Linked DNA regions of Homo sapiens: region 2 is linked to region 1. Evidence: promoter capture Hi-C in 16 types of primary human blood cells and fetal thymus (Javierre and others, 2016). All regions are on one chromosome and are shown on one strand. Each heading gives the region's core, a stretch centred on a gene start or on the middle of the fragment in contact. The rest is flanking DNA. Distances are from core to core; before and after follow the strand shown. Region 1 holds the start of CYP1A2 (cytochrome P450 family 1 subfamily A member 2). Region 2 holds the start of ISLR (immunoglobulin superfamily containing leucine rich repeat).

The links. The method cuts DNA at HindIII sites, captures the fragments that hold promoters and counts their contacts. A CHiCAGO score of 5 or more calls a contact.
Region 2: a contact is called between the fragment with the promoter of ISLR here and the fragment with the promoter of CYP1A2 in region 1, in 4 of 17 cell types (M1 macrophages, fetal thymus, M2 macrophages and 1 more). The highest score is 6.8, in M1 macrophages.

What each region holds. Positions count from the first base shown.
Region 1 is chr15:74,745,601-74,752,509 of GRCh38, forward strand. It overlaps CYP1A2 (cytochrome P450 family 1 subfamily A member 2), which reads left to right and starts at 3,245. Exons shown (of 7, transcript NM_000761.5): 1 at 3,245-3,297; 2 at 4,130-4,969; 3 at 5,589-5,709; 4 at 6,165-6,254; 5 at 6,524-6,647. The coding sequence starts at 4,139. RefSeq lists a cis regulatory region at 1-1,914, promoters at 40-3,335, 721-1,269, 3,001-4,138 and an enhancer at 889-1,147. The HindIII fragment of the contact is 9,803 bases long and covers 1-5,255 here.
Region 2 is chr15:74,170,260-74,177,168 of GRCh38, forward strand. It overlaps ISLR (immunoglobulin superfamily containing leucine rich repeat), which reads left to right and starts at 3,451. Exons shown (of 2, transcript NM_005545.4): 1 at 3,451-3,760; 2 at 4,592-6,612. The coding sequence starts at 4,600. The coding sequence ends at 5,886. RefSeq lists enhancers at 2,196-3,184, 3,185-4,172, 4,173-5,161, 6,269-6,785. The HindIII fragment of the contact is 10,197 bases long and covers 3,227-6,909 here.

The DNA of each region.
Region 1 (6,909 bases), core at 1,995-4,494:
CAAGCAAAACAAATCCATGCAATAGATGTTGGGGTCATGGGTACCCTTGAGAAAGGAACACAACGGGACTTCTTGGATGCTTATGATGTCTCTTGATTAGAGCTGGTTATATGTGTGTTTGTTAAGTTTGCAAAAATTCATCAAGCTACACATGATCGAGCTATACATGACATATGCACTTTTCCATTTATTTATTTATTTTTGAGACAGAATCTTGCTCTGTCACCCAGGCTGGAGTGCAGTGGTGCGATCTTGGCTCACCGCAACCTCCGCCTCTCGGATTCAAGCAATTGTCATGCCCCAGCTTCCCGAGTAGCTGGAATTACAGGTGTGCACCATCACGCCCAGCTAATTTTTTTTTGTATTTTTAGTAGAGATGAGGTTTCACTATGTTGGCCAGGCTGGTCTTGAACTCCTGGCCTCACTCAAGTGATCCTCCCACCTCGGCCTCCCAAAGTGCTAGAATTACAGGTGTGAGTCACCGGTCCCAGCTGACATATGCACTTTTCTATATTGTATCCTGTAATTTAATTTTTTTAAGTTTTAAGAAAACATTAAAAATAAAAAGATAAATAGTCTGTCATACAGGAGAATTTCAAATAGTTTATGGAGATAATCCCCCCTCAAGGAGAAGGAGCGTAATCCCCCACTCCTTCGGTGTGGGCTGTGCATAGTGACTTCCTTCCAAAAGGTACAGTATGGAAAGGTGGGAAAGGAGTAACTTTACAGTGAAGAGACCTGACACGCACTACCTTAGCCAGGTGATCAAGGTCAACATCCACATCTGTAAGTCACATTGATAGGATGTAACCCTGATATGATGTGACGAGAATGGCACCTAACCTCCAAGGTCTTCCCACCAACAAACCATAACCCCAGGCTTACCATGAGAAGAAAAACATCAGGCACATTCCAATAGTGGGCATCCTACAAAATGTCCAACCAGTACTCCTGAAAATTGTCAAGGTCATCAAAAACAAGGATATCCTGAGAAACTGTCACAGCCAAGAGGAATCCAAAGAGACGTGATGACTAAATGTCATGTGATATCCAATGGGTCCTGGAACAGGAAAAGGACATTAGGTAAAACGCAAGGAAATCTAAGTAAACCATGAACTTTAGTTAATTAGAGAGACAGACAGACAGAGAGAAAGAAAGAGTCCATTTTCTATAAAACCGAGCCTAACCTCAAACCTTGACCTTTTTCATTGAGTCATCTGAACCCAATGGAGATATAGACAGGAAACAACTTTCCTCTTCTCCCATTCATGGCCTTCAAACATGCTCTGTTTCTCTATTGGATTCCCCATCCATCTGCCTTGGCATCTTCACAGGTTGATCCCACAGTTTTCTCATTTTCAGGAATAAAAGCCCACTCCAGTCTAAATCAAAACTTCCCTCTCACATCCATGCCGGGCACAGTGGCTCACACCTGTAATCCCAGCAGTTTGGGAGGCCAAGGCAGAAGGATTGCTTGGGCCCAGAAGTTCAAGACCAACCTGGGCAACATGGCAAGACCTCCTCTCTACAAAAAAATGTTTAAAAATAAAAAAATTAGCCAGGCATGGTGCACACACCTGTGATTGTGGTCCCAGCTACTCAGGAGGCTGAGGCAAGAGGATTGTTTGAGCTCAGGAGGTCGAGGCTGCAGTGAGCCATGATTGTGGCACATGAACCCCAACCTGGGTGACAGAGCAAGACTCTGTATCTAAAAAAAAAAAAAAAAGATAGCAAACTTCCTTTTCACATCCAATTTAAGGCTTGTCCTCCTCCTCCTCTTAGATCTGACTGAGATCTGGGTCCATATTAAAGACTCCTTTAGTACAACAAACACCATATATCCTCACGTAAGTCCATGAATATCTGACATTTCTCATATCTACTTTCTCTCGATTTATTGATAGATAGGTATACATTGTTTTAATTTTATGGGTACATAGTAGGTGTATATATGTATGGGGTACATGAAATGTTTTGATACAGGCATGCAATATGAAATAAGCATTCATGGAGAATGGAGTATCCATCCCCTCAAGCAAGGATAAACCTTTGAGTTACAAACAATCCAATTACACTCTTTAAAGGTGTACATTTTTTTTTTTTTTGAGACGGAGTCTCACTCTGTCGCCCAGGCTGGAGTGGAGTGGCACGATCTTGGCTCACTGCAGCCTCCACCTCCCAAGTTCAAGCCATTCTCCTGCCTCAGCCTCCCGAGTAGCTGGGATCACAGGCACATGCCACCATGCCTGGCTAATTTTTGTATTTTTAGTAGAGACGGAGTTTCACCAGGTTGGCCAGGCTGGTCTTGAACACCTGATCTCAGGTGATCCGCCCATCTCGGCCTCTCAAAGTGCTGGGATTACAGGTGCGAGCCATCGCGCCTGGCCTAGAGGTGTACATTTTTTAACAGAACCATTCAAAAGGAGGTTGTGGGGATCATGACACTTCCATGCTACAGCATTAATCTCCTAAGAATAAGGATACACTCCCACATACCATGACACTCTGTTCACACCTAAAAAAATTTACATTTATTCCAGAATATCATCTAATCTCCAGTCCGTGCTTACATGTCCCCAATTGTCCCCAAAACATCTTTTATAGATTTTTTTAAAATTTTGTTTAAATGCCATATCCAATCGATATGGCAATCAAATGCAAATCCATATTGCATTTGGTTATGTCTCTTAGTCTTTTTGCATAAGGGGGGCCTCTCTTTAGGATGCAAAATCTTTATCATCTCTTCTTTTCCACTTGGGGACTTGGGCTGAAAATCAGGAGTGGCTGGAACACGCCCATTTACTGTTTGGTTTTGCAGGTTGTTGGAGGGTACTACAGAAGAACATCCCTCTGGAGAGGGGCCGTGAGCCTGGTTGGCCTAGACTGAGTGCCCTGGCAGAGCTCTTCCTCATGTGTGCAGTGGGAAAGAAGCCCAGATCAGTCCAAAGGCCTAACCCCCACTCCCAGACCCTACCCTACTCTTCAGAGAAATAGGCTCCCTACCCTGAACCCTAAAGACAGCTGTACCTTCATCCCCAGGGACCCAGCACCCCTTCTGGCCTATCCCCAAAGAGTCACCCTGGGTCTTAGGTAGTAGGTGGAGCTGAGGGATAATGGCCCAAGGCCAAGAGTTGATCCTTCCAACTTTGTTCAGTGATCCAGCTTTCATATCAGGTGATCAGGACAACCAGGCCAATCTGATAGGGGGCGGTGTTTATAAAAAGGCCACTCACCTAGAGCCAGAAGCTCCACACCAGCCATTACAACCCTGCCAATCTCAAGCACCTGCCTCTACAGGTACCTTTCTTGGGACCAATTTACAATCTCTGGGATCCCCAACTATAGAACCTGGAAGCTAGTGGGGACAGAAAGACGGGGAGCCTGGGCTAGGTGTAGGGGTCCTGAGTTCCGGGCTTTGCTACCCAGCTCTTGACTTCTGTTTCCCGATTTTAAATGAGCAGTTTGGACTAAGCCATTTTTAAGGAGAGCGATGGGGAGGGCTTCCCCCTTAGCACAAGGGCAGCCCTGGCCCTGGCTGAAGCCCAACCCCAACCTCCAAGACTGTGAGAGGATGGGGACTCATCCCTGGAGGAGGTGCCCCTCCTGGTATTGATAAAGAATGCCCTGGGGAGGGGGCATCACAGGCTATTTGAACCAGCCCTGGGACCTTGGCCACCTCAGTGTCACTGGGTAGGGGGAACTCCTGGTCCCTTGGGTATATGGAAGGTATCAGCAGAAAGCCAGCACTGGCAGGGACTCTTTGGTACAATACCCAGCATGCATGCTGTGCCAGGGGCTGACAAGGGTGCTGTCCTTGGCTTCCCCATTTTGGAGTGGTCACTTGCCTCTACTCCAGCCCCAGAAGTGGAAACTGAGATGATGTGTGGAGGAGAGAGCCAGCGTTCATGTTGGGAATCTTGAGGCTCCTTTCCAGCTCTCAGATTCTGTGATGCTCAAAGGGTGAGCTCTGTGGGCCCAGGACGCATGGTAGATGGAGCTTAGTCTTTCTGGTATCCAGCTGGGAGCCAAGCACAGAACACGCATCAGTGTTTATCAAATGACTGAGGAAATGAATGAATGAATGTCTCCATCTCAACCCTCAGCCTGGTCCCTCCTTTTTTCCCTGCAGTTGGTACAGATGGCATTGTCCCAGTCTGTTCCCTTCTCGGCCACAGAGCTTCTCCTGGCCTCTGCCATCTTCTGCCTGGTATTCTGGGTGCTCAAGGGTTTGAGGCCTCGGGTCCCCAAAGGCCTGAAAAGTCCACCAGAGCCATGGGGCTGGCCCTTGCTCGGGCATGTGCTGACCCTGGGGAAGAACCCGCACCTGGCACTGTCAAGGATGAGCCAGCGCTACGGGGACGTCCTGCAGATCCGCATTGGCTCCACGCCCGTGCTGGTGCTGAGCCGCCTGGACACCATCCGGCAGGCCCTGGTGCGGCAGGGCGACGATTTCAAGGGCCGGCCTGACCTCTACACCTCCACCCTCATCACTGATGGCCAGAGCTTGACCTTCAGCACAGACTCTGGACCGGTGTGGGCTGCCCGCCGGCGCCTGGCCCAGAATGCCCTCAACACCTTCTCCATCGCCTCTGACCCAGCTTCCTCATCCTCCTGCTACCTGGAGGAGCATGTGAGCAAGGAGGCTAAGGCCCTGATCAGCAGGTTGCAGGAGCTGATGGCAGGGCCTGGGCACTTCGACCCTTACAATCAGGTGGTGGTGTCAGTGGCCAACGTCATTGGTGCCATGTGCTTCGGACAGCACTTCCCTGAGAGTAGCGATGAGATGCTCAGCCTCGTGAAGAACACTCATGAGTTCGTGGAGACTGCCTCCTCCGGGAACCCCCTGGACTTCTTCCCCATCCTTCGCTACCTGCCTAACCCTGCCCTGCAGAGGTTCAAGGCCTTCAACCAGAGGTTCCTGTGGTTCCTGCAGAAAACAGTCCAGGAGCACTATCAGGACTTTGACAAGGTGAGCCCGGGGTGCAGGTGGCAAGGGGCACCTTGCAGGGCCTGGGTGCAGCCCCTCCCTCCCAGCTCCAGCATGCCCACACAGCTGCTGTGTTGCCAAGGCCTAGGAAGGCTCTGGACACCTCAGACCAGCTGTGTGACCTGGAGCCGACTCTTCCCCTTCTCTGGGCCTCAGTTTCCTCATCCTTGAAGCCCCCTTCTCAGGGCTCCTCAAAGCCCCCAAGAAAAAAGCCCTGGAAATGGGGCCCTAGCAGAGTCCTGCAATGTGGGGGGCCTATGAGTGAGAAAGCTTTCATTCTGCAGAAACCTAAACCCCAACAGAGGCTAATCCCCAGCTCTGGTGTCACGTTGCTTCCCTGTGTTCACACTAACCTTTTCCTTCTTTGAAATTGGACCCCTGGTGTTATTGGGAGGAAGGGTCAATGGGGCATAAAATGACACTTTAAGCCATACCCAGGGCTGCTACCAGCTCCTGCTGCAAGCTGCAACCCCCTGCCTAGAGACCAAGTTGGGAGGATAGGGGGGTACCCAGCCACCAGGTACAGGCCAGGGGAGTGGAGCAACGTTCAGCCTTTGACCTTGGAAGTGCCAGAGGTGCCCCTAAGCTTGTGCCCCCTCAGAACAGTGTCCGGGACATCACGGGTGCCCTGTTCAAGCACAGCAAGAAGGGGCCTAGAGCCAGCGGCAACCTCATCCCACAGGAGAAGATTGTCAACCTTGTCAATGACATCTTTGGAGCAGGTAGGAACCAGAACCTTGCCCCTCCATCCAACAATGCCTGCTGTTCACCCACAGCCTTGCCCAGCCCCTCAGTCCATGAAATAACCCACCAACCCTACACCAGATGGTACAACATACTGAGATCTGGCTTGGGATCAGGGTTTGAGCCTGGGCTATGCCACCAATTCCCAGTGGAGAAACAGCAAAGTCCTTCTCCTCCCCTAGGCTTCAGTTTCCCCATCTGAACAATAAGGTGTTCTCTGGCCTGTAAGTCTAGGCCCCTATAATTCCAGCAGCTAATTCTGAAACCTGTATCTCAAGTTTATGTTGAAGAGACCCAGCCTCTGTCTTCAGGAAACTCACAGGCTAGGGCCAGAGAAAGCTAATGCTGGATACATACATAGCAGATACTTGGGAAATGATGGTTTCCTTGTTTCTGTCTTCCTTCTTTCCTCACCTTACACTACACGGTTCAGGATTTGACACAGTCACCACAGCCATCTCCTGGAGCCTCATGTACCTTGTGACCAAGCCTGAGATACAGAGGAAGATCCAGAAGGAGCTGGGTACATGGGGGCCCCCAACCCTATAGCCAGGAGAAGCCTTGAGACCCAGGTTGTTTGTTCAGTCTACAAACACCTGTTATGTGCCTGCTGTGTGCAAGCCCTGGGCACACAGTAGTGCCTGCCCTTGCCTAGAAGATGTGGGAGGTTAGTGGGGTCGCAGACTTGTGAATAGACAGTCTTACATAAGAGTGACATGGGGTATAAGAGGGGATAATTCATGGGGCAGTTAGGGCAGCCCCTGAGCTCTGCTTGTCCTCTGTGTTCTACAGACACTGTGATTGGCAGGGAGCGGCGGCCCCGGCTCTCTGACAGACCCCAGCTGCCCTACTTGGAGGCCTTCATCCTGGAGACCTTCCGACACTCCTCCTTCTTGCCCTTCACCATCCCCCACAGGTGAGGCCTGCCGGTTCTGCCCTCCCACCTCTAAAGTGCTTGCCATGTTTTCTCTTCCTGGCTTCTCAGCCCTGGCCCTGGCTCAGCATCTCCTTCCCGACCTCGTTCCCCACAGATCCCGGCCTCAGTCTGCCCCCATCCAGTCCAAACATAATCTAACCCCCAGCTCTCAGGAGAAAGTTCCACTTGTGATCTCAGCGCTCATTCCCCTCTGTTCATATTCCCTCCCTCCCAGTGCCCTCTGTGCCAGTCAGGTCGGCCT
Region 2 (6,909 bases), core at 2,201-4,700, 580 kb before region 1:
TGGGGGGAATACAGTGTCGGGACCAAGATAGACTCTGCCCCTCTTGGTGGGATGGCTACAGCCCACAACCACAGCTGACCACAGCAGCCCCCGACTGCCTCTCTCCTCTCAGAGCCTGTTTCCGGGTTCAGACCTTCTTCCTCCATCTCTCTTTCTGGGTCTTTCTCCCTTGCTTCCTTTCTCTACCTCCAGAAAGGAGGCTGTGATTCTCTGTTTTTCCCTCTCTTTCCTGGTGTCTCTCTCATTTCTCTGTTTCTCTCCAGTTTTCTGTCTCTGCTGGGCTTGTCCCTCTCGCTCCATCTTCTCATCAGGATCTTTTTTTTTGCCTTCCAGGAAAAGCTGACGTGGTGCCCCTGGTCAGTGGGAGTGAGGCCTTCTGGGGTGGGGGAGTCCTGGTTGAGCAGCCACAGCTGGGGTGCGGCTGGCGCCCTGGCTAGGGGCAGCAGGAGCAGGAGCAGAGCGAGAGGCAGCGGAATGGGAGGAGAGAGGGCTGGACCTCTGCAGGCAGGAAGGGGAGCAGGGGGAAAGAAAAACTGTGGGAGGGAGTGAGCCCCCCTCCCCTGCTAGGGTGACCAACTGTACTGGTTTGCTGAGACTGTCTCGATTTTAGCATGGAAAGTCCCATGTCCCAGAAAACCCATCAGTTCCAGGTGAACCAGGACTGTTGGCTGGTCACCCTACAAGCTGCCAGGGACCCACAGGAGACAGGGCCAGGACTCACAGGAGGGGCTCCCAAGCTTGGCCTCCTAGTTCTGGGGACAGTCAGGGCCGCACATACTCACCAAGGGTCCCCATCTCAGGCCTGAGCCCAATTTAGAGGAGGCCAGGAGAGGGGAGATGGCAGCCCAGACAGCCCACAGGAAGCTCCCAGCCTGAAAAGATCAGGGAGCCCGACTTCTGACTTGTCTCCCTGCCTGCTGGCATGATCTCCTGTGAGGTGGGCTTTACAGAAAGAACTTGAGCTCTGACAGCAAGAGAAGAGCAGAGGGGCAACCCAGGAGGTCATACGCCCCATCCTCAGAGGCCTGCACAACTGCTCCTGGGCTCTGCTGAGGAGCAGGCCCACCTGTCCCACTGTGAGACACCTTGGAGAGTCAATAGTCCTTGGCTGAGATCCTGGCGGCCTTATTGTCCTTCCTGGTGGAAGCGGGTATGGCCACACCTTGCAGGCAGTGGCAGGACCTGAGCAGACCAGGAAGATACATCAGTGACCAGCACGCACAGTCTCATTTCTGCCCAGGTGGGCTGGTCCCTCCCACTTTTCCCGCCCTCAGCCCCCCACATCTGTTTTGAGGTGGGAGTCTGAGCTTAGTGTTTGGCTGTCATTAAGGTCTTAGGTAGGGAATGAGGGGACAGACTCCCTGCCCCCAGAAGGCTGCTGACATACTCACCCACCCAACAGAGCATGGGTCTCCTACACTGTATGAAATATTCTCTAAAATGTCTTGGGCATGCCCCTTCCCTAGCCTGGGCCCAAAGGCCCTATCTGTAAGTTGATGAGGAGATGAAGTGGGTGAGCTCTAAAATGCTTCCTTCTGATGACCACCCAACTTGTCCATCATGCCATGAAGGGGGCGCTTACAGAGTGTCTTCCCTGTGCTGGAGATCAATAGCACCTGGGAAGTTAAGGCCTCTGCCCTCAGTGGGCTTCCTCTCTAGTAAGGGGTCGCACATTAAGCACGCATGAATAAATAATCACAGCTTATAGGAGGAGCTATGAAGAAAAGTCAGGAATGTCTGAGAGAACAGTCACTGGGAACTGAGGGCTGAGGAGGTGCTTGTACTCTGACCCTGATGTGCTTGCAAGGAGGGAGGTGGGGTGGGAACTATGAGCTCCTCAGAGCACCCTGGAGGTAAAGCTGGTGGCACAGACTTTGTGCAGGTGAGGGTGTGTGTATGGGCTGTGCAGAACATAGTGAAGCCCCCTCCACCAGGAAGCCCTCCCTGACTGACACTGAGGTCACTGAGTCTCCCCTCTGGTTTACTGAACCCTGGATGTGTTTCTTGCAGCCTCTGGTTGGCCCACCAAATTCAGGACTTTCCTAGAAATTCTCCAGCACAGTCAGGATGATGCAAGAGAGGGCTTCCTCTGCAGGGGAAAGAGAGGGTGCTCTCCATTGGACCATAATAATATCCTCAGCATCAGACTCGGGTGTTTTGCAGGCAGCATGCTGGGGACTTCTGTGGCCTTGCTTGGTGACAGGGAATGGGGTGTGATGAGCTGGGGCAGGCTTCCTGGGGATGCTTTCAGCCAAAGATGAGCCCTGTCTGCCCTTGGCCCTGCTGAGAGGGTAAGTTGAGTCATGAGCAGAATTCAACCAGTTATCAGATGGAAGGCCAAGGAAGCTTGGGGAGGGCTACTGAGGGGATACGGTAGGCTTGTCTGTGGAGAGCAAAATTCTTCAGTCTACAAAGTTCTTTTCTGGGCTCCTTCATCTTTCGGTTTCTCTTCCAGCTCCCTCGTTTTGGGCCTCTTTTGTTTCCCCATTCCCCTCCCCTGGGCCTTCCCGTTTGGAAAAGGGGTCACATATCCTCACCCTGGAGGCGTCTGCCCCTTCCACACAGTTGGTGTTGGAACAGTGGAGCTCAGAGAGGCCGATGCTGACCGCGTAGATGTCCAGCACCAACAGTGGGATTTTGGGCCCTGTGGGGGACACAGAGAGAACTCTCCGGGAGTGCGGCCCCTTGGCCTCCCCTCTGGGTGCCCAGTGGGCAGTGGGCCTGGGTGGCTCAGAATCCCAGCCAGGAGCACTGAAGGTCAACAGGCTCCCGCCCTGAGTTTTCTGAGCCAGGCCTCCCTGTTTCCTCCCCAGCCAGTGGGGAGCGCAGTGAGGGGCGGGGCCTGGAGTCTTGGGAGCTCCCTGGACAACAACATGCATTTAGCGCAGCTCAGTCTCAGAGCCAGCAGGATATGTTTTCTTAAAAAAAAAAAAAATGCCTAACATCTTGGCTTTCACCGAAGGGTTGGTATCTGCTTTGTACACTTTGGCCTTCTTGGCTTTTCACTGAAACACACACACATGGATGCACACTCACTTCCACACACAAACCCACACCAAGACAGACACACACACACACTCACACACAAACTCATGTACATGGTTTCATACCCACATCCATGCAAACACACATACAAATCCAGAAATACGCACCCTCACACCCACAAACTTGTACACACACACACACGTATACACACCAACACACATACAACCCTGGCTTGGACAAAAGCTTCCCGTTTTTTCTTGTTTGAAGTGGAAATCTCCCACCTTCCATGAGATTCAATTTCTCGCCCTTCCCCCGCTAAAATCCTCCTGGCCCCATCATTTCTTGGGTCCTTTCCAGACAGTGCTGTGTCTTTAAGGAAGTTGAAGCTGCTAAAAGTGAGTGAGAGAGAGAGAAAAAACACAACCCAAAAAAATTTGGCATCTCTTCCCCCCTCAAGTTTCTGGTGTCACTTATGAAACACAGGTCCTTGTTGCTGCAGAGAAGCAGTTGTTTTGCTGGAAGGAGGGAGTGCGCGGGCTGCCCCGGGCTCCTCCCTGCCGCCTCCTCTCAGTGGATGGTTCCAGGCACCCTGTCTGGGGCAGGGAGGGCACAGGCCTGCACATCGAAGGTGGGGTGGGACCAGGCTGCCCCTCGCCCCAGCATCCAAGTCCTCCCTTGGGCGCCCGTGGCCCTGCAGACTCTCAGGGCTAAGGTCCTCTGTTGCTTTTTGGTTCCACCTTAGAAGAGGCTCCGCTTGACTAAGAGTAGCTTGAAGGTAAGCCAGTGGGGAGGAGGGCTCCAGGGCCAGCGGCGGGAGCGGGAGGCCTGTTGGACATAGGGGCTGGTTCCCTCTTGGTCCATCCCTGCTGGTCTGAGGTGCGTGGGACAATCCCTAGCTTGGAGCCGTCCAGGGGGCATCTGCTTCTTCCACAACCCACAACTGAGGCCCCAGAAATCCCAGCTGCGTTTGGGCTGAGCCTCTGGCCTCACCCAAGTCAGCTGAGAGGTCCTGGCGGGGGTTTATTTAGGCAGCTGCCTGGCTAAGTTTGAACAGAACAGGCCACGGGTGTGATTCCACAGAAAAGGCCTGGTGTCTGCTGCGGTCATGGCCGGAGGAGCGGGAGAGGGCGGGTGGAGTGGATGGGGGTGGTGTGCACTGCACAAGGGGCCTCGTCTGGGCCAAGGCAAAGCATACCTATGGGGGGCTCCGGTGGGAGGGACTGCGGCCAGGATGTGGGAGGGCAGGGGGAGGTTCTGCAAAGTGCTGGGGGAGGGGGGTGGCTGGAAAACAGATTTCAAGTCATAAAGTCAGCTAGGAACAGGCCGAGGCAGGGAGAACTCTCCACTCGGAGGAGGAGCTGGGGTCCTCTTCCATCCCGTCTTCATCCTGCCTGGCTGCGTGACCTCGGGCAAGTCTCCGCCCTTCTCTTGGCCTCAGTTTCTCCTTCCGTAGGATGGGGGCGGTGGGCTAGGTGGTGTTGGGATTTAGCTGGGTTATGTGGGACAGGGCCTCCTGATGGGAAAGAGCTCTGGCTGGGCTTGTGGGAGGAATGAGTCCCTTTGGCAGGTTCTCGGGATCCCCTGGGTGACATGCCTTTCTCTGCAGGAGGCACCATGCAGGAGCTGCATCTGCTCTGGTGGGCGCTTCTCCTGGGCCTGGCTCAGGCCTGCCCTGAGCCCTGCGACTGTGGGGAAAAGTATGGCTTCCAGATCGCCGACTGTGCCTACCGCGACCTAGAATCCGTGCCGCCTGGCTTCCCGGCCAATGTGACTACACTGAGCCTGTCAGCCAACCGGCTGCCAGGCTTGCCGGAGGGTGCCTTCAGGGAGGTGCCCCTGCTGCAGTCGCTGTGGCTGGCACACAATGAGATCCGCACGGTGGCCGCCGGAGCCCTGGCCTCTCTGAGCCATCTCAAGAGCCTGGACCTCAGCCACAATCTCATCTCTGACTTTGCCTGGAGCGACCTGCACAACCTCAGTGCCCTCCAATTGCTCAAGATGGACAGCAACGAGCTGACCTTCATCCCCCGCGACGCCTTCCGCAGCCTCCGTGCTCTGCGCTCGCTGCAACTCAACCACAACCGCTTGCACACATTGGCCGAGGGCACCTTCACCCCGCTCACCGCGCTGTCCCACCTGCAGATCAACGAGAACCCCTTCGACTGCACCTGCGGCATCGTGTGGCTCAAGACATGGGCCCTGACCACGGCCGTGTCCATCCCGGAGCAGGACAACATCGCCTGCACCTCACCCCATGTGCTCAAGGGTACGCCGCTGAGCCGCCTGCCGCCACTGCCATGCTCGGCGCCCTCAGTGCAGCTCAGCTACCAACCCAGCCAGGATGGTGCCGAGCTGCGGCCTGGTTTTGTGCTGGCACTGCACTGTGATGTGGACGGGCAGCCGGCCCCTCAGCTTCACTGGCACATCCAGATACCCAGTGGCATTGTGGAGATCACCAGCCCCAACGTGGGCACTGATGGGCGTGCCCTGCCTGGCACCCCTGTGGCCAGCTCCCAGCCGCGCTTCCAGGCCTTTGCCAATGGCAGCCTGCTTATCCCCGACTTTGGCAAGCTGGAGGAAGGCACCTACAGCTGCCTGGCCACCAATGAGCTGGGCAGTGCTGAGAGCTCAGTGGACGTGGCACTGGCCACGCCCGGTGAGGGTGGTGAGGACACACTGGGGCGCAGGTTCCATGGCAAAGCGGTTGAGGGAAAGGGCTGCTATACGGTTGACAACGAGGTGCAGCCATCAGGGCCGGAGGACAATGTGGTCATCATCTACCTCAGCCGTGCTGGGAACCCTGAGGCTGCAGTCGCAGAAGGGGTCCCTGGGCAGCTGCCCCCAGGCCTGCTCCTGCTGGGCCAAAGCCTCCTCCTCTTCTTCTTCCTCACCTCCTTCTAGCCCCACCCAGGGCTTCCCTAACTCCTCCCCTTGCCCCTACCAATGCCCCTTTAAGTGCTGCAGGGGTCTGGGGTTGGCAACTCCTGAGGCCTGCATGGGTGACTTCACATTTTCCTACCTCTCCTTCTAATCTCTTCTAGAGCACCTGCTATCCCCAACTTCTAGACCTGCTCCAAACTAGTGACTAGGATAGAATTTGATCCCCTAACTCACTGTCTGCGGTGCTCATTGCTGCTAACAGCATTGCCTGTGCTCTCCTCTCAGGGGCAGCATGCTAACGGGGCGACGTCCTAATCCAACTGGGAGAAGCCTCAGTGGTGGAATTCCAGGCACTGTGACTGTCAAGCTGGCAAGGGCCAGGATTGGGGGAATGGAGCTGGGGCTTAGCTGGGAGGTGGTCTGAAGCAGACAGGGAATGGGAGAGGAGGATGGGAAGTAGACAGTGGCTGGTATGGCTCTGAGGCTCCCTGGGGCCTGCTCAAGCTCCTCCTGCTCCTTGCTGTTTTCTGATGATTTGGGGGCTTGGGAGTCCCTTTGTCCTCATCTGAGACTGAAATGTGGGGATCCAGGATGGCCTTCCTTCCTCTTACCCTTCCTCCCTCAGCCTGCAACCTCTATCCTGGAACCTGTCCTCCCTTTCTCCCCAACTATGCATCTGTTGTCTGCTCCTCTGCAAAGGCCAGCCAGCTTGGGAGCAGCAGAGAAATAAACAGCATTTCTGATGCCCCTCCGTGTCTGCCTGGAATTTTGTCTGGATCTAGGAGCCTCTGCTGGGAGATAGGATCAGGAGCTGAAGAGTCAGGGCAGCCAGCCTGCCTGCCCACAGTGGCAGGGGCCTCTGAGACTCCAACAGACTGTGGAGGCACAGGAGTGCTGGCCCGATGCTGTGTCAGGGGCTGGGCCTTGCGGTGAGCTGAGCTGCAGATGTTCCCTTCCTCCAAACCATCCCACAGGACAGCTGGGGGCAGGAGCCTGGGGTGGCTGGCGACCCTGAGCAGCGCCTGATGTCAGCAGTGGCTTCAA